7 separate regions of the Homo sapiens genome follow, and regions 2, 3, 4, 5, 6 and 7 are each linked to region 1. Evidence: promoter capture Hi-C in 16 types of primary human blood cells and fetal thymus (Javierre and others, 2016). All regions are on one chromosome and are shown on one strand. The core of a region is centred on a gene start or on the middle of the fragment in contact, and the rest is flanking DNA. Distances in the headings are between cores, read along the strand shown.

Region 1 (3,233 bases), core at 652-3,151:
GCCCACCTCCAGGTGTGCAGGTGACAGGCAAGTTCTCCAGGGTTTCCAGTAAAGCCTGCAGCCAGTTTTATTTGCCTCTTCTGGTGGGAGCCCTGGTGTAGTGTGCTATGTGCTCTCCATATGATCTCTGCCAGGAGGGACTTACTGGAGGTGGGACGGGGGTGCTCTCCTGGGTTAGATGTGGGCCTAATCATAAACCCTGTGTGTTCTCCAGCTTCACTACCCAGGCTGCCCCTGGTGAGCTGGCATTCATCTTCCCCCTTGCTCAGTTTTACTCACCAGGCCAGCAGAAGGAAATCAAGCTTTAGCCTCTGTAGTGCACACAGTTCACTGGGTAGGACAGCTGGTAGGCCCCCACCCTGACCCTTTCTCTCGCCTCTTGTCTTCCTGCAGTCAAAAGCCCATTAACGAGAAAGTGCCTGCCCACTGCAACGGAGCCGCCAGCACCTCCTCCCCTCCAGATCCGGGCCCCAGGCTGCTGCCGCTTTTTATAACTTTATATTATTTTTTTTTAAGAAAAAAAGCTCTTTAAAATACCTCAAGACTGTCTCCCTGTTCTGTTGCTGCTATGAAAATATAAAAACAGAAACATAGAAAAGGAAGGAAAAAAAATAACAAAATGAGTGTCCTTACTGTCCCCAGCCCTACCCTGGGAGGCTGAGATGATAGGCAGCCAGACTCCAGCTCCCATAGCTTGCCTGCAAAAGTCTCTTATGCTCATTATTATTATTATTGTCATCTTGTCATTTTCAATAGTGTGAAAAATGTTTGTGTCACTGGGGTAGTCTTTCCAGACAGGATGATGAGGCGTGTGGCTCTGAATGAGTAAGGCTTCCTGAGTCTTGACACCAGAGACGACTATGGTCCCATTGGGAAGAGAAACTCGAGAGGGGGAGCTGCACTTCTGGCTCTTTCTAGGATCCTTGCCCCGAGGGTCTGGGAATTGGCTTGTGACCCTTTTCTGGTCCTTCAGCAACCCTAGGCATCCATCCCTCCCTGAATTATTGCCTGCTTTTCTTCAGCTGTTCCTGCAGCCTCATTTTCTCAGCCACTTAGGGAGCTTGAGCTGGGTTGGTCATTGCTGTTGGGATATTCCTGTTTTCTATTGGACAGCCTTCCTTCCCTGCCTGTGGGTTTGCCTTTAAGGAAGGGGTAGAACCTTTCCCAGGGAGGCCTCCTTGGGTTGAACCACCCCTTTTTTGGAGGCAGGAAGGGAAAAGGCATCATCACTTGCAGAACTGGTGGTGTGGGAGGCCACAGGAGTGTGGGAGGCCTTGGTCCTTCAGGATCACCTGGCTCCTCAGGGCTGAGCAGCTGCTGAGGAGGCGGCAGGGCTGGGAGTGCCCTAGTTTTTCCATTTATCTCGCTGGGGACCACTCCCGTGCAGATGCGAGAGGAGACTTGCATTTCCCTCCTTTGGTCCACCAGGTTCAAGGCACTATATTTTGGCGATGTCCTTTCCTATTCTCCTTGCTCTTAGGCATGGAGGAAGCTTGTTCCCTGAACAAGACAAAATGAGGTGACAGGAGACAGTGCACAGCCAGGGAAATCCAGTACTACTAGAAATCGGCTCCAAACACTTGTTTCACAGTCTTGGTTCAGCGTACCAAGTGTGTGATTTGGGGTTTCACTGAAATCGTTTGCCACAAAAGTAATTTCCACAGGCTGCTTGGGATTTAGGCCCTTGTAGACAGACACACAGATACAAATGAAGGTGGGCTGGGAACTGTTCGGTCCCCTTCTGCCTCCGGGCTCTCGCGGGAGCGGGCCTCTCCGGGGCACTCGCGTTTCCCCCCCAGCCCCCAGAGGGCGCTGTGGGCCACTCCGCCGCACTGCCGGCGGCGTCCCCGGGGAGGAGCCTCTCCTGCAGCCGCCACCGCCTCCGCGATCGCAAACCCGGAAGACGTGTTCGGGCAGCTGGAGTGTACGGGCCCGCGGGCCACGGCCATGCAGCCCCTGGAGGTAGGTCTGGTTCCCGCTCCAGCTGGGGAGCCGAGACTGACCCGCTGGCTGCGGAGAGGCAGTGGGATCTTGGCGCACCTGGTAGCTTTGGGCTTCACCATCTTTCTGACAGCGCTGTCCCGGCCAGGAACCAGTGAGTGTGCGGGGCGGGGTTGCGGAAGGGGGCGGAGTGGAGATGCTGGAGGGGCAGCGCTTGGGAGCCCCGGGAGACTTGGAGGAGGGACCCCAGCAGTAAAGGGGAGACAGAAACAGTGGAGGGATTTTGAGGGCCTGGTGGGGCGGGGCCCCAGGGATCCTGGAATAATGGGGTTTTGGGTGCTGTGGGGGAAGGGCAGACGATTGAACAGACCGAACTACTTCCTCAGAAACAGGTCCCCTGATGGAGGATAGAAGTGAAGGAGGCCGGGCGCGGTGGGTCATGCCTGAAATCCCAGCACTTTGGGAGGCCGACGCGGGTGGATCACTTGAGGTCAGGAGTTCGAGACCAGCCTGGCCAACATGGTGAAACCCCGTCTCTACTAAGAATACAAAAATTAGCCAGGCGTGATGGCGCGCGCCTGTAGTTCCAGCTACTTGGGAGGCTGAGGGAGGAGAATCGCTTGAACCCGGGAGGTGGAGGCTGCAGTGAGCCGAGATTGCACCACTGCACTCCACCCTGTGCGACAGAGCGAGACTCCGTATCAAAAAAAAAACAAAAAACAACAACCAAAAAAAACAAAAAACAAAAAAGGGGCAGAGGACTGGGCTGCCAGCTGAGAGGTGCTGAACGGGGAACCCGGGCCAAACTGTTGTATGTGTGTGGATAAGGAGGCCCTCTTGGTTGCTCACCCTGGGGCTCCTTGGCTGCTCCACTTTGTCCTTAGTTCCTGTGCCCGATTAGGATTGGGGATGGTACTTTTCTCCTGTGGCTAGATTCTTTGGGTTCCACCTAGCTACAGGGGCAGGAACAATGGTACCAAGCCCTCAGCCTGTTCTCTTTGATTCTTAGGTCTTTTCTCCTGGCACCCTGTATTCATGGCCTTGGCGGTGAGTTTAGGCTTCTATCTGATTTGTTTGGGTATTCCTCACCTCATTCTCCCAGGGAAGCACCCAGCTTTCAGAAAGCTCAGCCTTTCTAAGGCTAAGACAGGTGGAGGAAACATCTAGGGCTCATCTTTCCCTGCAGCCTATGGGATTGGGAAACCTGGAGGGCTGGGCCATAGGCAGTTGTCAGATGGTTGAAAAGGGCGGGAGGGCATGGAAGATAATTTCTTTCTCCATTGGGGCCGGAA
Region 2 (3,233 bases), core at 546-3,045, 470 kb after region 1:
TCCCACCACAGGGGGGACATATAGCATGAATAAGAACTGGCTTCCCTTAGAGAGCTTTTCCAAAGGACACCATCTATTTACTCAGCAAATATTTACTGAGCAAAATGGGAGGAGAAGGGCATTCTGGGGAGAGAGAAGAGTTTGAACAAAGCTAAAAAGGAGGGAAAACCAGGAGTATGTATGGGATACACTGAATAGTCAAATTCAGGTGATAAAATCTGAAAGGTAGGAGGGAACTGATAAGTAGAGCTTTGAATGCGTGGCAAGGAGTTTGGACTTACTGAAACAGGCAAAAGGGAGCCAAAGAAGATTTTGAGCAAGTGATAAACATAATAAAAAATGCTTATTAGGCAAGTTAATATGCCAGCAGTTCCTAAATTGGACTGGGTTGAAGAATAACAATATAAAGCAGCCAGCAATGATTGAGTAGTTACTATGTACCCAGCACCATGCCAAACTCTTTGCATACATTTTCTCATTTAATGAAAGTAATAATTAATGCATTTAAGACTCAGTGTCTGGCCCATAATGTATTCCAACCCTCACAATCATCCTGTAAATTGAGTATTATTACCTCAGTTTTATAGGTGATGTCTATATTGGTCTGTTTGCTATTGCTTATAACAGAATACCTGAAACTGACTAACTTCTAAAGAAGTTTATTTCTTACAGTGATGGAGGCTAAGAAGTCCCAGGCTGAGGGGCTGCATCTGGCGAGTCTTCTTGCTGGTAGGGAGTCCCCAGGTAGTTCGGGGCACCCCATGGTGAGAGGCTGAGCAAGCTAATTAACTAATTAATTAACCATTTAATCCATTAATCCATGAATGAATTAATACACAAATGAGGGCACTGTTCACATCAAATGTTTGAGAGTTTTTTTTGTTTTTTTTTTTTCTTTTTTCTGTGTCTAAAGGGTTTTTATTTAAGAGCCTGTAGTGCTGAGTTCCACCAAGGATTTGGAAGGTCACTCTCAGCAGCAGCCACTTCTGCCAGGACCAGTGGTGAGCACCTGGCAGGGCCTTGCTGTTTCCACATAAGGCAAAGGAATCCAGCTTTTCTGTAGGATTTTTGCTGCAGCTGTTCAAAACCTTGTGTGAGCCAGCAGTTCCAGTTCAAAGGTTAAGAGGGCGCATAGCACCTAGGTGGCCAGGTTCCTGTAAGTCACCACTCAGGCCATAAGTCACCACGGAGGGGAGAGACAAAGCAGCCACAGCTGTTCTGTTTCCAGTCCCACCCCTCTGGCAAACAGATGGGGGGAAATGGAGAAGAAAAGTTCACAAAGTCGGTGAAATGGCCAGGCACGGTGGCTCACACCTGTAATCCCAGCACTTTGGGAGGCCAAGGCAGGTGGATCACCGGAGGTCAGGAGTTTGAGACCAGCCTGGCCAACATGATGAAACCCCATCTCTACTAAAAATACAAAAATCAGCTAGGCATAGTGGCAGCCTCCTGTAATCCCAGCCACTCGGGAGGCTGAGACAGGAGAATCGCTTGAACCCAGAGGTGGAGGTTGCAGTGAGCCAAGATCACGCCACTGCACTCCAGCCTGGGCGACAGAGTAAGACCCCACCGAAAAAAAAAAAAAGTAGGTGAAATGAAGAGGGCAGAGGAGCTGCAGGCAACTACTTGCAGGCCCCACCACACACCTGACAGTTCTGCCTTCAAGATCCAATCACCTCTTAAAGGCCCTACCTCTCAATACTGCCACAGTGGGGGTTAAATTTCAACACGAGTTTTGGAGGGGACCAATACTGAAACTATAGCACTGCCCAAGGTTCAAAGAGGTTAAGTATTTTATACCAAAGATCAAAGAGCTATACGTGGCAGAGCTAGGATTTAATCTCAGGTTGATCTGCCACCAAAGTTGACTCTTAAGACAGGGAAGTATTAGGAAGCAATTTCAAAAGTCCTGACAAGTGGTGATGGACTAGGGGAGGGCAGGGGGAAAAAGACAGGAAAACGGATGTACAACTAAGTTACAATTGCATAGCACACATGACATGGTAATTGAGAAATCTTTAGATAGAGAGAATGGTCAAAGATGACCCAAAGTTTCAAACATGAATGACCAACAGAAAGGTGGCACCAGACTGAAAATCCAGAACCTAAGAGGCAAAGTCAATTAAAGGGATTCTGAATATATTGAATTTGATGCGTTGATGATAACCATGTGGAGATAACTTGCTAACATTTGGAAAAATTTTATTATTCCTTATACTCTGTTCCTCATTTATAACTCCTCATTCTTTTATTTAAAAAATTTTAAGAACAACTGAAAAATCAACAGCTCTTCTTAGATCCTTCAGAGAAGTGAGGTCACGGGACAAATCACTGCCTCTAAAATTAGAGAGACAGATACAGAGAATTACAACTTAACCAAGGCAGAAACCCATGAGCAGAAACTTCTGTGGGAACCAGTATTAGGGTAGAACAACTTAAACTGTAATTGATAAATTGCTAGAGGCTCCATTGTGGACAAGTCTGAGAAATAAAAACTCCAGGGGGTCCCAGTCAGAGGGAGGCCTCACAAGTTTTTTGTGAGGTTTAGCTCCATGAGCTCTACCAGGTTCTCACAGAGAGTACTAGAGAAAAATCCCTTTATACTTCTAGGGAAAAGTAACCATTTTGAAATATGCCAGAGCATTCTGTTCTTCTGGACAAGGTCTGCCTTCAAGGGAAACGATTTTACCAGAGCCTAACCTAATGGGGTTTTATCAGCGCCTAAAACCAACTGGGGGGAAGAGAAATACCCAACTCCAGCCCACTGCAGCCATCGTGTCCCACATTGCAAGTTGAGGTGGATATTGAGAAGCACTGTGAAGTTTACAGCCCAGGGGCACAGGCTTACTAAAAAACTGAGACCTCATTATATAGAATGCTTATCCTCTCCCTACGTCTTAACTCCACACCACTAAGGACTGTTTGCCAGAGTTCCTTTTACCCAGTACATTGTATCTGGTGTGCAACAAAAAAAAGTGTAAGACATACTGAAAGTCAAAAAACATAGTTTAAAAAGACAGAGCAAGCATTATAACCAAGCTCAGGTATAGCAGGGATGTTGGAATTATCAGACCAGGATTTTAAAACAACTATGATTAATATATTAAGGCCTGTAATGGAAATAGTAGACGACATACAAGAACAAATGGGTAAGCAGAGGGATGGAGATTCTAAGAAAGAATTTTAATAATGCTAAAGATAAAAAAACACTGCAACAAAAAGGAAGAATGCCT
Region 3 (3,233 bases), core at 484-2,983, 400 kb before region 1:
ACACAGCAGCCGCCACGGCGCAAAATAAACTACAAAACTACAAGCCTTTACCTTTTCAAACACACTGACGCGGGCCAGCCCCAGCCCTACGCCCGCAGGGGCACGCAGAAAAGACTTAGTTACCACGGCCAAGTACGAAGCCTTCGAGATAGCGTTCTTCTTACCCTACGTAAACACGCAGTTTCCCGAGCTCGACAATCGGCTAGCCACTCCTGATAGCGTTCGGCGCTCGCCTCTCGGCCCTTGCTCCTGCGTACTACGGCTTCTTCCAGTCACCTCGGCCCGGATCGGGAAGTGTCAAGCGGGCGCTCCCCCATCTCCGCCGCTATTACCACTGAACCCGGACCCCCTACCCAGGTCCAGGGCCAGCCGCCATGACGAACGGTGAGAACTGATGCCCTGAGCGGAGGGTGGGAGTGAAGGACGAAGGGAAAACGTGGCGGGCGGGGCCGGGACTGACGTGGCCGTTCTCCCCGCCCCCTCCCAGCCCGGCCCCCCTTGGCCTCTCGACGCCCCTAACTTCTGTACCCCTATACTCCTCTACGGGTTCCCCCTTCCCATATTCATCTAGGACCCCCAGTGCCTCTTATGCTCACACCTCGAGTTATCTATCCCTATGCTTTGCTTTCCCTTTTCTTTTTCTTAGTTCTTTCTGGCCCTTGGAGAGGTCAGTCCCAGAGGTACTACTGCTATTTAAACCCGGGGAAGAGAGAGGCTCCTCCTCCCAGCTCCCTGCGTTCTCATGCTTTCGGACCGTAGTTTTGTTGAGAGGGCCAATAAATGACATAGAATATCAAGTCCCACACTTTTGGGGTTGCTGGTGAATGTAGACCCCACAAAAGCTTCTTCTTACGGAAAAATACCGGAAAGATTTCTGATTTTAAAGTCCTGGCGGGGTGATCCCACGTGGAGACCCTGACTAGTGTTGCAAAGGGTGGATTTAGACACTGCCTCTTCTAGATGATGAGGCAGTTTATCTGACCTAATTTTCCAGGCCTCTTCAAACACTTTATGAATTCTGAATTCCAGAGGAGGACAGGAAGGAGGGCCTTCATGATTTTTAGTGTCAACCTTACAGGAAAGGAGAAGAGAAAGCCTTTTAGGCATTACGATGATTTGAGGGGCTCCGGAAAGCATTTCTCAAAAGTACTTTGTCCATAGACCTGGCACTGAAGACTCGAATTTAACCTCCTTGTGAATTTTGGCATTGTCTGCAGAAACTTATGAGAGAAAAGGGGTAGCACGTGAAGGTATAGTTCCTCAGAAAACCTTAGTGTATGTATTAATTTGCTGGACCCTTTCTTAGTGACAGCTTAGCTGTGAGACAGTTTTACTGGAGGAAGAGAGGTAGTGTGATCTAGAACTGGCAGACACTGGTTATATATAATATTCATTTGGAGCTTCCTGGGAAGTCAGAGGTCTCAGGATACTAGGCACAGTAAGAAAAGGGAATTTACCCAGAGGAAGACAGAATCTGAACCAGGAAGTAAGACAGCAGTTTGACACGGTAGTTGCTGAATAAATTTTAGTCATTCTTCCCCCATTTTGTGGTCCAATATCTTCTTGTTTTTTGCAATTAGGTGATTCATTGTGCTTCCCTGTACAAGAAATAAGCTTGGTTTATGTATTTAAGAAACAGAGCTAAGAAGTTAAAGCTTTCTATGTTGAAGCCTTAGATACTTTTTCTTTGTTTTAGAAAAATCTGTTATTATTCTGGCAGAAATTCGGTTTGTTAAGAGTATCATCCATAAAGTGTAAGATAATGATAGGAAAATTGTAGTCATGTGGATTCTTACTCTTGCAACTTTCATTAAGCTTAATTTTTTGCCTTAACATATTCTTCACCAACAGTTGCACATCTGACAGTTTTGGCTACATATCTAGCTCTCCTTTATCATATGAGTGATTTATAACAAGAACATGTTAAATTCTCTGTGCTGAGTCTCTAAGGATTCATATGTCTCAATCTATTGCCAACACTAGTCATTCCTGGGATGCTAATTTCTGCCCAGGATTTCTACTTCTTGAAAGGTGAGGGGAAGGACCAGTGACATTTTAGTAAAGGGGATGTAAAAAAAAAAATTTTTTTTTGAGTTGGGGTCTCACTCTGTTGCTCAGGCTACAGTGCAGTGGCATGATCGTAGTTCATTGCAGCCTCGAACTCCTGGGCTCAATTGATCCCCCTTCCTCCTACAAGCAATTTTTGGGAACAGTAAAATAATCGTGTTAGTCCCAGGATCCTGGCTCCCCCTTGTCAAGTGTCAGTACTGCCTGTTGAGGTTATTATTTTGTTATTATGTCACACACTATCTTCCTTAGAGTTCTCAGGCGGGATCACAGGTCCGACGCTAGATCAGTACCTAAGGTTTTCTTTTCTTCTTTATTTAACAGTGTACTCCTTGGATGGGATTCTGGTGTTTGGTTTGCTCTTTGTTTGCACCTGTGCCTACTTCAAGAAAGTACCTCGTCTCAAAACCTGGCTGCTATCAGAGAAGAAGGGTGTTTGGGGTGTGTTTTACAAAGGTGAGGCCATGTCTGGACAGGGAGAAGAGACTGCCATCTCTGGACAGTGTGGAGCTACAAAGTAGGGAGTACAGTGAGCTGGGATTATATTTGGTTTCATTTTTAGAAAAAAATCCCTCCGATTGGGTCTGAGAGTCTGGAAAATTAATCATTCTCCAAAGTTGAGGGAAGAGGTAAAAGTTAAAATTTGCTGGGTGTGATGGCTCATGCCTATAATCTCAGCACTTTGGGGGGCCAAGGCAGGAGGATTGCTTGTGTCCAGGAGTTGTAGATCAGCCCGGGCAACACAGTGAGACCCCATTTCTACAAAATATACAAAAATTAGCCAGGTATGGTGGCACGTGCCTGTAGTCCCAGTTACTCAGGAGACTGAGGTGGGAGGATTGCTTGAGCCTAGGAGGTTGAGGCTGCAGTGAGCCATGGTGGAGCCACTGCACTCCAGCCCAGGTGACAGGGTGAGACCCTGTCTCAAAAAAAAAAAAAATTATTTAAAAACATAATTGTCTATTTTAGCATCCAGATGATTTTTGTATTCTCCATGGAGTAAAAGTATACACATCAAATCATTTTAGGCTGGGGTGGAATTCCTCCCTTCAGTGGGAAAAAAATTTTTCTACGGAAAATTTTTCTTGATTTTCTGTAAATGGTACATTGGAGTCTGTTTTAAGGTTTGAGTTAATTAACTCAGATGCTTTTTTGTACTTTTTATT
Region 4 (3,233 bases), core at 209-2,708, 290 kb after region 1:
CCCGCTCCAGTCATGCTCTGTCCTCTTCTTCTCTGGCGTTTATTGCTCCTCCCAGCTCTGCCCTCTGCACACCCATCCTTCAGTGCCTGGGTGTGGCAGAAGAGATCTCCTCCCCCCAGCTCTCCTGCTCTTGACATCAGCAGGAAATTCACAGAGCTTTTACTCTGGATCCAAACAAACACTCATGTGTTCGTGCATCTAGCTGAGAGCCCAACCTGGGTCTGGGCTGGCCTGGGAGCCCTGGGGGATACAAAGGTCCTTGTCCTCAAGACACTCCCAGGTGGAGGGGAATAAGCCCTGTCTACCGCCAAGAGCAAGACCACTCAATACCCAACGGATGGTCCCCATGAGCCAATGGCGGCCGTGGAAACATAGAGACCCAGTTCTTCCTGCTGTGTGCTTAACTTTCATGGGCTCATGGGTGCTTCACCACTGCTCATTAAGGCCAGCTCTATTATGGTACTATTTCACATTTGAGGAGACTGAAGCTCAGAAAGTTGACTAAACTGTCTGAGATTGCTTAGCTGTCAGAGGCAGCACGTTGGTTTGACCCTGGGGTGGTTGACTGCAAGCCCGCTTAGTGCATGGCCATTTCAGGAGAAGGATGTGAGAACTGGCAGGGATAGGGGGTGGTCGCTGGGGCACATCCCCAGTGGGCATCTTCCTGGACTTTCTCCAGGATGGGGAGTGATTCCACACAGGCTGACATGGGGTGTGATGGGCCTGGCTGCTGGCATGTGGCTCCCCGGCAGTGCCCCCACCCTTTGCTGGTCTCTCACCCAGCCCTCTCTCTGGTCTCCGGTTCTGTGGCACGTGCCTCTCTTCTCCCAGTTTGTCCCTCCTCCTCCTCCTAGACAAAGGTAGCCTGATACTGTGAGTCAGGATGGATTGGGAGCCAGGGTCATTAACTCACCTGGGCCTGTCAAATGGGCGTAAGCACTGATTATCCTGCAGGGATCTGGTGGAACTCAAACCATTGAAGATTACAGAAGGAAACTGCTATAAATATTTAGAGGCATGAGTCATTCATTCATTCGGCAAGTATTTATTGAGCGCATACTCTGTGGCAGGCCCTGCTCTGAATTTTAGGGATATTGTCCTGAGGAAGACAGCCTTAGCTCCTGCCCGCATGGGGCTTACAGTCTAGAGTGGGGTGGGGGGCAGACATTCAGTAGCCATGCAGATGAACACATAGGTACAAAGCAAACTGTGTTCAACAAGATTGTCAACAGGGTTGGAGAAATGCGTCCACAGCCTTTCCTGAGTAAGTGGGATTTCAGCTGAAGGATGACAAGTCAGCCTGCACAGGGCAGGGCAGGGGCCCCCAGGGCGTGAGTGCAAAGCCCTCGAGTGGCGGACAAGCCAGAGGCTTGCGACAAGGCAGCATGAGCTGGGGCGGCGCGGGGGGAGGCTGGGGGCTGACTGGCCGGACTGGGCATGGCCTTGCAAAAGAGAGCTATTGAAGGATTTAGTTTAAGTGGCTTAACAAAAATAAACCTCTATCTCTTTGACCTGGGTCTCTAGAGCTTCTCCTGCCTCCTTTGCCCTCAGTGTCCATTCTGTGTGATGAGAAGTTGGGCTTGGGGGAGGTCTCAGCCCTCACCCCCTTCTCGGGCAGAAGGGCAGCTGATTGAAAGCAGATGTCTCGCCCTGGTGGGGCCCAGCCCGGCTCCCCAGTGCTGACCTCAGACCTGCACCGCTGGCATGTCCAGGCCGCAGACTCTCTGTCAGCAAAGCCGCATCCGTCCTGCAGAGAGACGATCACTGTGGTTGCCCACACCCCCAACCCAGCAATTTCCCTACCACGGTGAGAAACCTCCCGTATTCTGGGGCTGGGGCCCAGCCTCCTCCTTCCAATTGCCTGGGGGAGGGAGAGACACCAATTAGGTTCTTGGAAAGGAACTAGGTTAGAAGAGGTATCTGTCACCCCTGCCCAGTTCCTCGGCACACCTGCACCAGCACAGCGCCAAAGGAGGCCACCATTATCCTATTCAGCATGTCCTTGGCTCTGGGCTAAGTGCTTTATGTCTTCCCATTTAACCTTCACAAACAGCTCCATGAGGCCCAACCGTTAAGGCAGTGTGTGACTGAGGCTCAGAGAGGACACCTTGTCACACGGCTGGTAGGTGCAGAGCTGGGATCTGAGCCCAGGTCATCAGGTCTGAAGTCTGTGACCCCAGTGGTCCTCTGCAGGGGGCACTGGCTGTTGCTCCTGTGCCTCTCAGACACTCCATGTGCCTGTTGCACCTGAGGAAGCCCAGGTCAGCTCCAGGCTGCTCGTGCCTCCAGGGACCTGCGTCTTGGCATAGGGCAGCAACATGGGCCCAGAGAGTGCTGGTGCGGCCTCTAGGTGGTGGCCTGGGCTCTGGACATTGTCAAGGGCAGTATGCTTGCTGTTGAATCAGTTTGGACCATGCCCAGGGGTCTCTTCGCAGAGGGAGTTACCATTTTAATTTTTGCCTTTGAACACCCCTGGGAACCACCCCCCATGCACCTGCCCTTTTGGGGCTGCTACGTCCATGAGGCCTCTGCTCCCCGGCCCCCACCATGCACCTGGAGGCATTCAGCAGGCTCCACAGGTTTCCCAGAGATGCCTCTGGTGTCCTGCAGCAACCCTAGTGGCCACTTCCCTCACTACCCCTTACTCTCAGGCCACCCTAGAACAGTACTCTCTTTCCTCTGCTCCTACAAGGCTGCTCCCAGCCCATCTGCAGACCTATCTGCCTCACCCCTGGCCGTTTCCCTGGTCTACTTCCTCTTCTCTGCCCATCCCAGCATCTCTGCCTGATCCCACCCCCTCAGAGAGATCATTTTGCTCTCAGTCAGTCAGCAAGCATTTACTGAGCTGTAGAGATATCCTGGCTGAGAGCTCAGGCTCTGAAGCCTGACGCCTGGGGCTACAGAAATGAAACCCTCCCGTCCCCTGCTCACCTCTGGTGCACCTGGAGCATAAAGAGAAAAGGCAAAGGCTCCACCGCTGGATGCTGGCTTCACTTTGGCTTCTCCCTGCTGCCTAGTTACTGAGAAGAAAAAAAATACGGCAGGAAGCCCCATATAGACCATTTTTTCCCTCTGTTCTGTGCAAGAGTTACCTTGGTAGTCTTCAGGTGACTCAGCACTGGGGTTTACTATGGAGGGTGGGTCTGGGGGTGGCGAAGGGGAGCAGCTTTCTGGGGACTTTCAGACACAGGAGTAAGGAGGCCATTTGTGTTTTGGGGTCTGTAAAGAAGGAG
Region 5 (3,233 bases), core at 423-2,922, 300 kb before region 1:
CTAATCTATGAAAGATTAGAGATAGGTGTCTCTATCTTGTTTTCAGAAGTCTTCGAAGAAGTTAAAATGAAGCCTCAGAAGTAACAGGTCATGATCACTTAGGAAATAAGACTGATTAAAGCAGGCTTCATGTAGCAAAAGTGTCATTCAGTGAATTATGGAGAGCAATGAAGGTGGGGAATTTGGGGAAATGGTGTATTTTTTTATCTACTCCTTTCCTGTTTAGAAATGCTTATGATGTACTGCCACACGATAGATCCTTAGTTCAAAGACAAAAGAACTCTATTTTATTGTAATGTAAAGGTTTTCTTCAGTTTTCAAGCTCATCTACTTCCTACAATCTAGAAAAAAAAAAAAAGGCTGAGACACCAGATTTAGCACTTTTTTTTTTTTTGAGGTGGAGTCTCACTCTTTTGCCAGGCTAGAGTGCAGTGGCACGATCTCTGCTCACTGCAACCTCCGCCTCCCAGGTTGAAGCGATTCTCCTGCCTCAGCCTCCCGAGTAGCTGGGACTACAGGCATGCGCCAGCACGTCCAGCTAATTTTTGTGTTTTTAGTAAAGACGGGGTTTCACCACGTTGGCCAGGATGGTCTCAATCTCTTGACCTCATGATCCACCTGCCTCGGCCTTCCGAAGTGCTGGGATTACAGGTGTGAGTCACTGCACCCAGCCAGCACCATTTATAATAAAATTTATAACATTGAAAATGTTGACTGGGCACAGTGGCTCACCCCTGTAATCCCAACACTCTGGGAGACTGAGGCAGGAAGATTGCTTGAGCCCAGGAGTTCAAGACCAGCCTGAACAACACAGAGAGGCCCTATCTTTACGAAAAAAAAAAAAAAAAATTAACCTGCGGTTCCAGCTACTTAGGAGGCTGAGGCAGGAGGATCACTTGAGCCCAGGAGTTCAAGGCTTTAGTGAGCTATGATTGCACCATTGCACTCCAGCCCGGGCAATAGATCAAGACTCTGTCTCAAAAAGACAAAACAAAACAAAAAAATCAAATCTGTCTCGTCATTAGACCTGGGATGAATCATTCCCCTACAACATACCATTGAAACGCTGAAAATTTAGATGTAAAAAAGCCTTCCCTATTCCCTTCTGGGAATTCCTCTGTGACCACTCACTTCTTCCTACTTCTTCCTCCCCACTCCCCAACCAGGGTAGGAAAATGTCTGTGTGCACCGACAATGTCACTGACCTCCGGATTCCTGAGGGTGAGTCAGGGTTCTCCAAATCTATCACAGCCTACGTCTGCCAGGCAGTCATCATCCCCCCAGAGGTGACAGGCTACAAGGCCGGGGTTTCCTCACAGCCTGTCAGCCTTGCTGATCGACTTATTGGTGAGTAACTCCGCTGCCTCAGCCTTGTTTGAGAGTGTGTGTGTGTGTGTGTGTGTGTGTATGTGTAAGAGAGTGTGAGGTTACCAGTCTGGGAGGTAAAAGGCCCCACATGAGGGGCCCAACCTCTTGACCTGTGTTTTCTATTCCACTCTGTGTGCAAAGTGCTCCCAGGGACTCTGACAAACCCTTGTTTCACCCTTTCATAAGCCACTCAGGGATGTGATGAGATGAAGTGAGGTTGGATGTTGACAGGTATTGGAAGAATTGAAGTGGTTGCCAGCTAATGCTACTAGTGAGAACTAATTAGGAGCTCTAATTTGGCAGGGGTGACAACAGATATGACTCTGGATGGAATCACCTCCCCAGCTGAACTTTTCCACCTGGAGTCCTTGGGAATACCGGACGTGATCTTCTTTTATAGGTGAAGATGAGAGGCTAGGCTAATGCAAGTGAAACCTAGGACTCCTCCATAATTTCTGCTGCATCCCTCCCTCTCTAGCCACCTACTGCTTATCAAGCCAGAACATGTCTGAGGTCTAGCAGATCTGCCCAGTCATGATAGCTAAGGGCTGGGAGTTCCTGATCCCAGCTTCCTGGATATTACTGGAGCAGATCTGCCCTAGAGGCAAGGAGAAATATTGGATGATCTGCAGTGGACTTCCCTTCCAGCCTAAGCAGGCTCCAGTGTATGCTAGCCATGACTTTCCTAAACCAGGGCATTTCCCCCTTGACTACATATTGTTGATCCCCACCCTTTCCACGTATAAACCAAGGCCTGTGCACTCCCTGTGTGCCAGGCTAAAGCCCAAGTCCTGACTTCCCCAGCAAGGGAATTGCTCCATGCGGATTTCTCTTGGTGGCTGTCCAATAACACAGCTGAGTGACTCATTCCCTCATGGGGGCTGGCTTTCTCTGCAGGTCCAATGATGTGACCCAGTCCTGCAGTTCTGGGAGATCAACCACCATCCGCGTCAGGTGCAGTCCACAGAAAACTGTCCCTGGAAGTTTGCTGCTGCCAGGGTAAGCCCTGCAAAGGGATGTAACAAAGGCCAAAATCTCCCTTGAAGTCATTCCATCCTGAGATCCAGAGATTACTGAAAAAGAGCAAAAAAGAAAAGAGTTTGAGATCCATTAATGGGTGCTTAGGGGCACAGTCATGGCCCCAGACCCTCAGTCTTCATATGGCAAGAATGGGGTAGAAGGAAGAGTGAAAGCTATTCTCATATTCCTGGTCCATTAAGGCAGCAGCTGCGTAGCATGGTAACCAACAGCTCGGCTGAGAGCCAGGTTGAATCATCTCCTCCACTAACCAGCTATGTTATCATGGATGCATTTCTTACCTTCTTTAGGCCTCTTTTTTCCATATCTGTAAAAATGGGCATAATGCTAAATTCCCTCAGCGGGTTGTTTTGAGGATTAAATGAGACAAGGAGACTTTAGGACGTTTCATGATCTCTGGCTATTATGAGGATTAGTAAAGGTTTAGGGATCCTAGGAATCTCTCTGCAACGAAAATACCCAGTTCTGAGGTTAATAGCTGAGTGAACTAAATCAAAAATTTCTAAATGAATATGACCACAGGACACCCCCTCCCCTCCCCGCATAACAGCAGCTAACATCTTGACGGGCACTAGCGTCTTGAGGAAGACGTTTTGGATATGCTGCGCCTAAACTGACTGGGGAGATGGGGAGCAAAGCAGGGCGTCTTGACCCAGTAGTGGTGTCTGAGTGTCAAATCCCTGTTCTTGCCATTGTAAACATCACAGTAAAGTACATAACAGGTATCCATACCGGAAGTTCATTCCTGAACCCCACCTCAACTCCAATCCCACCCCGAGGAAGCTGCATCAAAGTGGCTATTGCAAAATGTCACAAGTCTGTGGGGA
Region 6 (3,233 bases), core at 284-2,783, 270 kb before region 1:
ACAGGCATGAGCCACCGCGCCCGGCATGGCTTCTTTCTTTCAAGATTATGTCTGTAAGATTCATCCATGTTATTAACATGTAGCAGTAGTTGGTTCTTTTCATTGCTATATAATACTCCATTATGTAAATATGCCAATCAATTCTACTAGCATATTTACTGCATGACATTTGGATAAACTGGGTTGTTACCGGTTGAGGGCATTATGAATAAGCTTCTAGAGACTCTTTTTTAAAAAATGTTTGATTGGCAATTAACAGATTATAGTTGTATATATTTATAGGGTACAATGTAATGTTATGATTTATGAATACAATGTGGAATAATAAAAGCAGCTAATTAACATATCCATCACCTCAAATACTTATATTTTGTGATAAGAACATATGTACATTCTTATGTGTGTCTTTTGGTAGACATTAACACTCATTTCTGTTGGGTATGTACCAAGGAGTAGAATTGCTGGATCATAGGGTGGGCACATGTTTAGATTTAGTAGATAATACCAAGTAGTTTTCCAAAGTGGTTGTAATGATTGATATTCCCACCAGCAATATCTAAGAGTTCCAGTTGCTTGGCATTCTTGCCAGTACTTGACATTGGCAGTCCTTTTAATTTAGCCATTCTGGTAGATATATAGTGGTGTCTCATTGTTATTTTAATTTGCATTTTTTTGGTGACTAAAGATACTGAGCGCTTTTTCATAAGTTGATGGCATTTGGATAGCCTATTTTGAGAAGTATCTGTTCAAGCCTTTTGACCAATTTTTATTTGTCCTTTTCTTAGTGGTTTGTAGGAATTATTTATATCGTGTGGATAGAAGAATACCTGTGAGATACAGATACCACAGATCTCCTCTCCCATTCTGTGGCTTGCCTTTTCATTCTTTCAGTCTTGTGATGAATAGAAGTTCCTAATTTTAATGAAGTCTAATTTATTGACTTTTCTTCTGTGATTTGTCTATTGTGTTTCCAAAACACAATAGATAAATCACAGAATTTGTATTCTGTTTTGAAAATCATGTTATGTCTTAACCTTCAGAAGAGATTCTCCAGTTTTTTTGTAGACATTTTATTTCTTTACCTTTTACATTTAGGTATAAGATATATTTAATATTAATTTTGGTGTATTATGTGAGATAGATCAAAATTTTTTTTAATGTGGAGAGTCAATTGCTCATGGTAAAAATGCAATAAACTGAGAATAGAAGGGAGCTTCCTTAATCTGATAGTAGATACTTACAGAAAAACCCATAGCTAATTTTTCTTTTCTTCTCTTTTTTTTTTTTTTTCTTGAGACAGAGTCTCATTCTGTTACCAGGCTGGAATGCAGTGGCGTGACCTCAGCTCACTGCAACCTCCACCTCCCAGGTTCAAGCGATTCTCCTGCCTCAGCCTCCTGAGTAGCTGGGACTACAGGTGCGTGCCACCACGCCCAGCTAATTTTTGTATTTTTAGTAGAAACAGGATTTCACCATGTTGGCCAGGATGGTCTCGATCTCTTGATCTCATGATCCGCCCGCCTCGGCCTCCCAAAGTGCTGGTATTACAGGTGTGAGCCACTGCGTCCGGCCACATTTTTCTTAATGATGAAATATCGAATGCTTTCCCCCTTGAGGTTAGGAACAAGACAAGTATGTCTCTTATCACCTCTTCTAATCAACATCATGCCAAAGGTTCCAGGCAGTATGAAGAAGGCAAGAAACAAAAATAAAAGATTGGAATGGAAGAAACTGTCATTATTTGCAGATCACTTGATTGTGTATGCAGAATCTGAACTATTACAATTAAATAACTTTAACAAAATAACTGGATACAATACACAGAATCAAAGGTACTTCTATATACAAGTAACAGTTTAGAAGCACCAGGTGCATAGAGATATACCTAATAAATAACATTTAAGACTCATATACTGAAAACTACAAAACATTGCTGAGAGAAATTAAAAACAATGAAGGGATATACTATATTCATTGATTGAAACATTCAGCATTGTTACAATATTTGGTTTTGTTTTATTTTCTTTTTGTTTCTTTTCTTTTTCTCTTTTGAGATAGAGTCTTGTTCTGTCACCTAGCCTGGAGTGCAGTGGAATGATCTTGGCTCACTGCAGTCTCTGCCTCCCAAGTAGCTGGGAGTACAGGCACACACCACCATGCTCAGCTAATTTTTTTGTGTGTGTGTATATATATATATATATATATATATATATATATATATATATTTTTTTTTTTTTTTTTTTTTTTTTTTTTTTTTTGTAGAGACAGGGTTTTGCCACGTTGCCCAGGCTGGTCTCGAATTCCTGGGCTCAAGCGACCCACCCACTTCAGCCTCCCAAAGTGCTGGAATTACAGGCATGAGCCACCACACCTGGCCTTATTTTCTTTTATACTCCCAATACCTACCTTGGTGCCTTGCAAATAGGAGGGAATCTCAAAACGATTATAGATTTACAGGAAGTTGGAAAAATAGTAGAAAGGTCCCGTTTTCCCCAATGATAACATCTTATATAACTCTAGTACAATATTAAAACCAAGAAATTGACATTGCTACAATCCACAAACCTTATTCAGATTTTGCCAGTTTTGCACACATGTGTGTGTGTAGTTCTGTGCAATCTTACCATGTGTAAATTTGTATAACCACTGCCATGCTCAAGATACAGAACTGTTTCATCACCACAAAGATCCTTCTTGCTATCTCTTTGTAGTCTACTCCCTTTGCCCTCCATCTCACCCCTAGCAACCACTAATCTATTATCCATCTCTATAGTTTTATCAATGTGAATAAGTGAATGAGAAAATAGTGATATCATTTTGCATTGAAGTTTTGTTAAAGAGGTATCAAAGAGGAAAGCTTCTTGGTAAAGCCTTAAAGAATGGCTCTCTAGGTGCTATCTTATTTCTAGTCATCAATTTTGCCTCTTAAAAGCTTGAGTTTGGCTGGATGCCATGGCTCACACCTGTAATTCTAGCACTTTGGGAGGCCAAGATGGGTGGATCGCTTGAGCCCAAGAATTTGAGACCAGCCTGGGCAACACAGCAAAACTCCATCTCTACAAAAATAAAAATAAAAAAATTAGCTGGGTGTGGTGGCGCACACCTGTAGTCCTAGCTGCCTGGGAGGCTGAGGTGGGAGGATCACTTGAGTCCAGAAGGCAGAGGTTGCAGTAAGCTGAGGTCGTGCCACTGCACTCCAGCCTAGGTGACAGAGTGAGACCCTGTCTCAACAA
Region 7 (3,233 bases), core at 309-2,808, 270 kb after region 1:
TGTGATCCTGTGTACCTGGGTGGTGCCTGTGAGCAGGACATGGATCTTGTCACAGAAGATGGGGACTGAGGCCCCTGGGGCATTACATGGAGCGCTGAGATTCCCTCTGGCAGGGCCCTCATTCTGTCCCTACTGTTGTCCCTTCCAGCAGGAGCCCCCTTACCAGCCCTTTCTCGCTCTTCCACTCTCTTTCCTTCTGTACCCCATCTTGTGCCCAGACCCCTGGTGGACGCCTGGCCAGCTTCAGCAAAGATGGAAAACGGAGGCCTGCATCTATCTCTAGTCATAAACCTACCCACTTCCTGCACTCCATGGTATCGAAAAATCTTTCTTGGCACTCAGAGTGGGCCAGGCTCCCCTGCCCTCTGGGAACTCACAGTCTAACCAACAAGGCCAGGTATAAACAGAAACCAGGGAGCAGGGCAGGAGGGGAGGCGGGGGCGGGGGAGTGCCAGTGAGCCTCGGACCCTCGTGGGCAGAATGCAGGGTCCCGGTGCTGGGCCCTGTGATGGAGTGTCCTGTGGAGTCTGAGGGCTGGAGCACTCCCATCTTTAGCTTCCCTGGAACTATCCCAGGATATCTCAGCCTTCTCTCCCATCACCACCCAACCAACGCTGCCCTGGATGGCCTGGAGTCCATGCGTCAGATCCTAGGGAGGTGCCTTCCCTGTCTGGGCTGTGTGTGTCCCTGGGAGAGTCCAGTGGACAGCCAGCTGCTGGGGCCCAGGGATCAGGTGCCTGTGAGGCCAGCACCCAGCCACAGCCCCATGGGAAGCAGTCCTGGGGTTCTTTCCCCTGGGTCCCCATCTTGTGGCCCTTCAGCTTCTTTTGGGATAGCACAGCCTGTCCCCTCGTTGCCTCCCCCAACTCCGTGAAGGCCACAGTCATATTTCACCCCAGCCCTGGCTTGGGGCTCAGGCAACACCTCATTTCTGCCCAGCTCAGGCCAGGCCCGTCCTTCCCATAGGACCCTCCCCAAGTCAGTGTGAGCACAGCAGGGACTCCTGGGGGGGCTCTGGGGCAAGGTGGGCAGGGGCAGAGAAACAATGAGTGGCATTCCCAGCACCTTGCCCTCTGCAGTGCCCTTTAGGGGTGCCCCTGGGAGCAGTGTGTGTCTCCTCAGACATAAAGCCTTTGTGGCCTTGGTGGGTCTGGGGCTTGGGGCCAGGTATTGGGGACATCTGCTTCTGTGGAGCCCCCTGAGGGAAGAGGGAAATCAGGAAAGAGGGAGAGGCCAAGCTTCCCATACCTGGGGACTTGGGGCCATAACTGAAGCTTCTGCACAAAGCTCCGGGTGCCACAGCAGCTCTTCTGCAAGGGAGTTCGGCTGAGGCACCAGGAGCTGGGACTTAGGTTGGAGGGGAAGGAAGCAGGACTCGAAGGGCATGTCCTTGAAATTGTGGGGTTAAAAGGCTGTGGGACCACATTCGTTCATTCATTCCACAACTTCCTGTAGAATTGAGGGCTTCCTGCCTGCTAGGCACTGTGAGAGGTGCTAGGATCCCTCTGGAGGGCTTACAGACACCTTGGAATTCAAGCTGAGTTCATTATTTCTCAGCAAACCATCTCCCCTCTCATGCTCCCATCTCAGGGAAGGCATCAGCTCCCAATCGTGTGTTCCAGCAGGGAGGGGAGTCCTCCCTCAATCCTCACACCCAATGGACTACCCTTCCTGCAGTCCCAGCTCTGTGGCAAGTCCTAAGTGGCCCCCTTCCTCTCCACCCCACTGCGACTGTCTTCCTCAGACCCCATTACACCTCCTGTCTTCGACCCTGCGGCCGTCTCCTCACCCACGCCCTCGCTTCACTCTTGTTCTCATTGATCCTTACTGGTTGCTGGTAGGGAAGCTTTCTTAGCTGGAGATTTGATTGTCCACTCCTCTGCCTAAAACCCCTCAGTGACTTCCCGCTGCTCACGGGACAAAACCTAAACTCCTTCTCAGGGCAGTTGAAGTCCTTGATGAACTCAAGTCTCCTGCTTCTGAGTCTGGCCTTATCTTCCCCCCAACTCCCTGCCCCTTGTACTTTATACTCGGCTTGGGGCATGGCTTGTAATTCCTTGAAGGGTCACACCCTGGTACCAGGCTGGCTGCTGTTCTCTGTCTGGCATGCCCTGTGGACACGCTATGGCTTTATGTCTCCAGTAGCCCTCCTTCAGAAGCCTTCCCACTGCCCAGGGCTGGTGGGGCTCTGGCCCGTGGCTTCCAGACACGTTGTACATGTGTCCCTCTGTTACTGCATGTATCACATTGAGGGGGATACCCCCATGACTGGGGTCCCTGTGGGGAAAAGAAAGAGAGATCAGACTGTTACTGTGTCTATGCAGAAAAGGAAGACAAAAGAAACTCCATTTTGATCTGTACAAAGAAAAATTGTTCTGCTTTGAGATGCTGTTAATCTGTAACTTTAGCCCCCAACCCTGTGCTCACAGAAACATGTGCTATATTGAATCAAGGTTTAAGGGATCTAGGGCTGTGCAGGATGTGCCTTGTTAACAATATGTTTGCAGACAGTATGCTTGGTAAAAGTCATCGCCATTCTCCATTCTCTGTTAACCAGGGACACGATGCTCTGTGGAAAGCCGCAGGGACCTCTGCCCAAGAGAGCGTGGGTATAGTCCAAGGCTTCCCCCCACTGAGACAGCCTGAGATATGGCCTCATGGGAAGGGAAAGACCTGACCATCCCTCAGCCCGACGCCCGTAAAGGGTCTGTGCTGAGGAGGATTAGTAAAAGAGGAAGGCCTCTTTGCAGTTGAGATGAGGAAGGCCTCTGTTTCCCGCATGTCCCTGGGAACAGAATGTCTCGGTGTAAAGCCGACTGTTCGTTCTATTCTGAGATAGGAGAAAACCGCCCTGTGGCTGGAGGCGAGATATGCTGGCAGCAATACTGCTCTGTTACTCTTTGCTACGCTGAGATATTTGGGCAAAGAGAAACATAAATCTAGCCTACGTGCACATCCGGGCACAGTACCCTCCCTTGAACTTATTTATGAACAGATTCTTTTACTCACATGTTTTCCTGCTGACCTTCTCCCCATCATCATCCTGTTCACCCTGTTCTCCTGCCACACTCCCTTTGCCGAGATAATGAAAATAGTAATCAATACATACTGAGGAAACTCAGAGACCAGCACCGGTGCAGGTCTTCGCATACTGAGTGTGCTGGTCCCCTGGGCCCACTGTTCTTTCTCTATACTTTGTCTCTGTGTCTTCTTTTCTCAGTCTCTCGTCCTAC

Evidence for each region. Contacts are between HindIII fragments. The CHiCAGO score rates a contact against its expected background, and 5 or more counts as called.
Region 2: a contact is called between a fragment that was not itself captured here and the fragment with the promoter of CYB561D1 in region 1, in 1 of 17 cell types (M2 macrophages). The highest score is 5.5, in M2 macrophages.
Region 3: a contact is called between a fragment that was not itself captured here and the fragment with the promoter of CYB561D1 in region 1, in 2 of 17 cell types (naive CD4 T cells and fetal thymus). The highest score is 5.3, in naive CD4 T cells.
Region 4: a fragment that was not itself captured here is called in contact with the fragment with the promoter of CYB561D1 in region 1 in 4 of 17 cell types (non-activated CD4 T cells, M1 macrophages, megakaryocytes and 1 more); the score reaches 6.3 in non-activated CD4 T cells.
Region 5: a contact is called between a fragment that was not itself captured here and the fragment with the promoter of CYB561D1 in region 1, in 5 of 17 cell types (M2 macrophages, M1 macrophages, megakaryocytes and 2 more). The highest score is 11.2, in M2 macrophages.
Region 6: a fragment that was not itself captured here is called in contact with the fragment with the promoter of CYB561D1 in region 1 in 2 of 17 cell types (total CD8 T cells and naive CD4 T cells); the score reaches 7.6 in total CD8 T cells.
Region 7: a fragment that was not itself captured here is called in contact with the fragment with the promoter of CYB561D1 in region 1 in 8 of 17 cell types (megakaryocytes, endothelial precursors, M2 macrophages and 5 more); the score reaches 8.8 in megakaryocytes.

What each region holds. Positions count from the first base shown.
Region 1 is chr1:109,492,193-109,495,425 of GRCh38, forward strand. CYB561D1 (cytochrome b561 family member D1) reads left to right here and starts at 1,902. Exons shown (of 3, transcript NM_182580.3): 1 at 1,902-2,095; 2 at 2,951-2,988. The coding sequence starts at 1,948. ATXN7L2 (ataxin 7 like 2) reads left to right here. Exons shown (of 11, transcript NM_001350175.2): 11 at 394-542. The coding sequence ends at 408. RefSeq lists a silencer at 1,673-1,902 and enhancers at 1,973-2,052, 2,042-2,542. The HindIII fragment of the contact is 3,360 bases long and covers 1,491-3,233 here.
Region 2 is chr1:109,960,552-109,963,784 of GRCh38, forward strand. No RefSeq gene overlaps it. Among named protein-coding and RNA genes, the nearest start is that of AHCYL1, 23 kb to the right of the region's middle. RefSeq lists an enhancer at 1-409. The HindIII fragment of the contact is 7,765 bases long and covers 1-3,233 here.
Region 3 is chr1:109,090,499-109,093,731 of GRCh38, forward strand. TMEM167B (transmembrane protein 167B) reads left to right here and starts at 266. Exons shown (of 3, transcript NM_020141.4): 1 at 266-384; 2 at 2,392-2,523. The coding sequence starts at 375. It also overlaps the pseudogene NDUFB3P1. RefSeq lists an enhancer at 1-99. The HindIII fragment of the contact is 160 bases long and covers 1,654-1,813 here.
Region 4 is chr1:109,786,663-109,789,895 of GRCh38, forward strand. No RefSeq gene overlaps it. Among named protein-coding and RNA genes, the nearest start is that of EPS8L3, 24 kb to the left of the region's middle. RefSeq lists enhancers at 185-1,068, 1,069-1,952. The HindIII fragment of the contact is 4,535 bases long and covers 1-3,233 here.
Region 5 is chr1:109,196,308-109,199,540 of GRCh38, forward strand. It overlaps ELAPOR1 (endosome-lysosome associated apoptosis and autophagy regulator 1), which reads left to right. Exons shown (of 22, transcript NM_020775.5): 16 at 1,167-1,347; 17 at 1,672-1,768; 18 at 2,266-2,367. Among named protein-coding and RNA genes, the nearest start is that of SARS1, 16 kb to the right of the region's middle. RefSeq lists an enhancer at 1,030-2,229. The HindIII fragment of the contact is 6,896 bases long and covers 1-3,233 here.
Region 6 is chr1:109,219,787-109,223,019 of GRCh38, forward strand. All of the region lies in intron 1 of SARS1 (seryl-tRNA synthetase 1), which reads left to right. Among named protein-coding and RNA genes, the nearest start is that of SARS1, 7.5 kb to the left of the region's middle. The HindIII fragment of the contact is 2,644 bases long and covers 212-2,855 here.
Region 7 is chr1:109,764,338-109,767,570 of GRCh38, forward strand. All of the region lies in intron 1 of LOC124904258 (a long non-coding RNA gene), which reads left to right. Among named protein-coding and RNA genes, the nearest start is that of EPS8L3, 2.0 kb to the left of the region's middle. The HindIII fragment of the contact is 572 bases long and covers 1,273-1,844 here.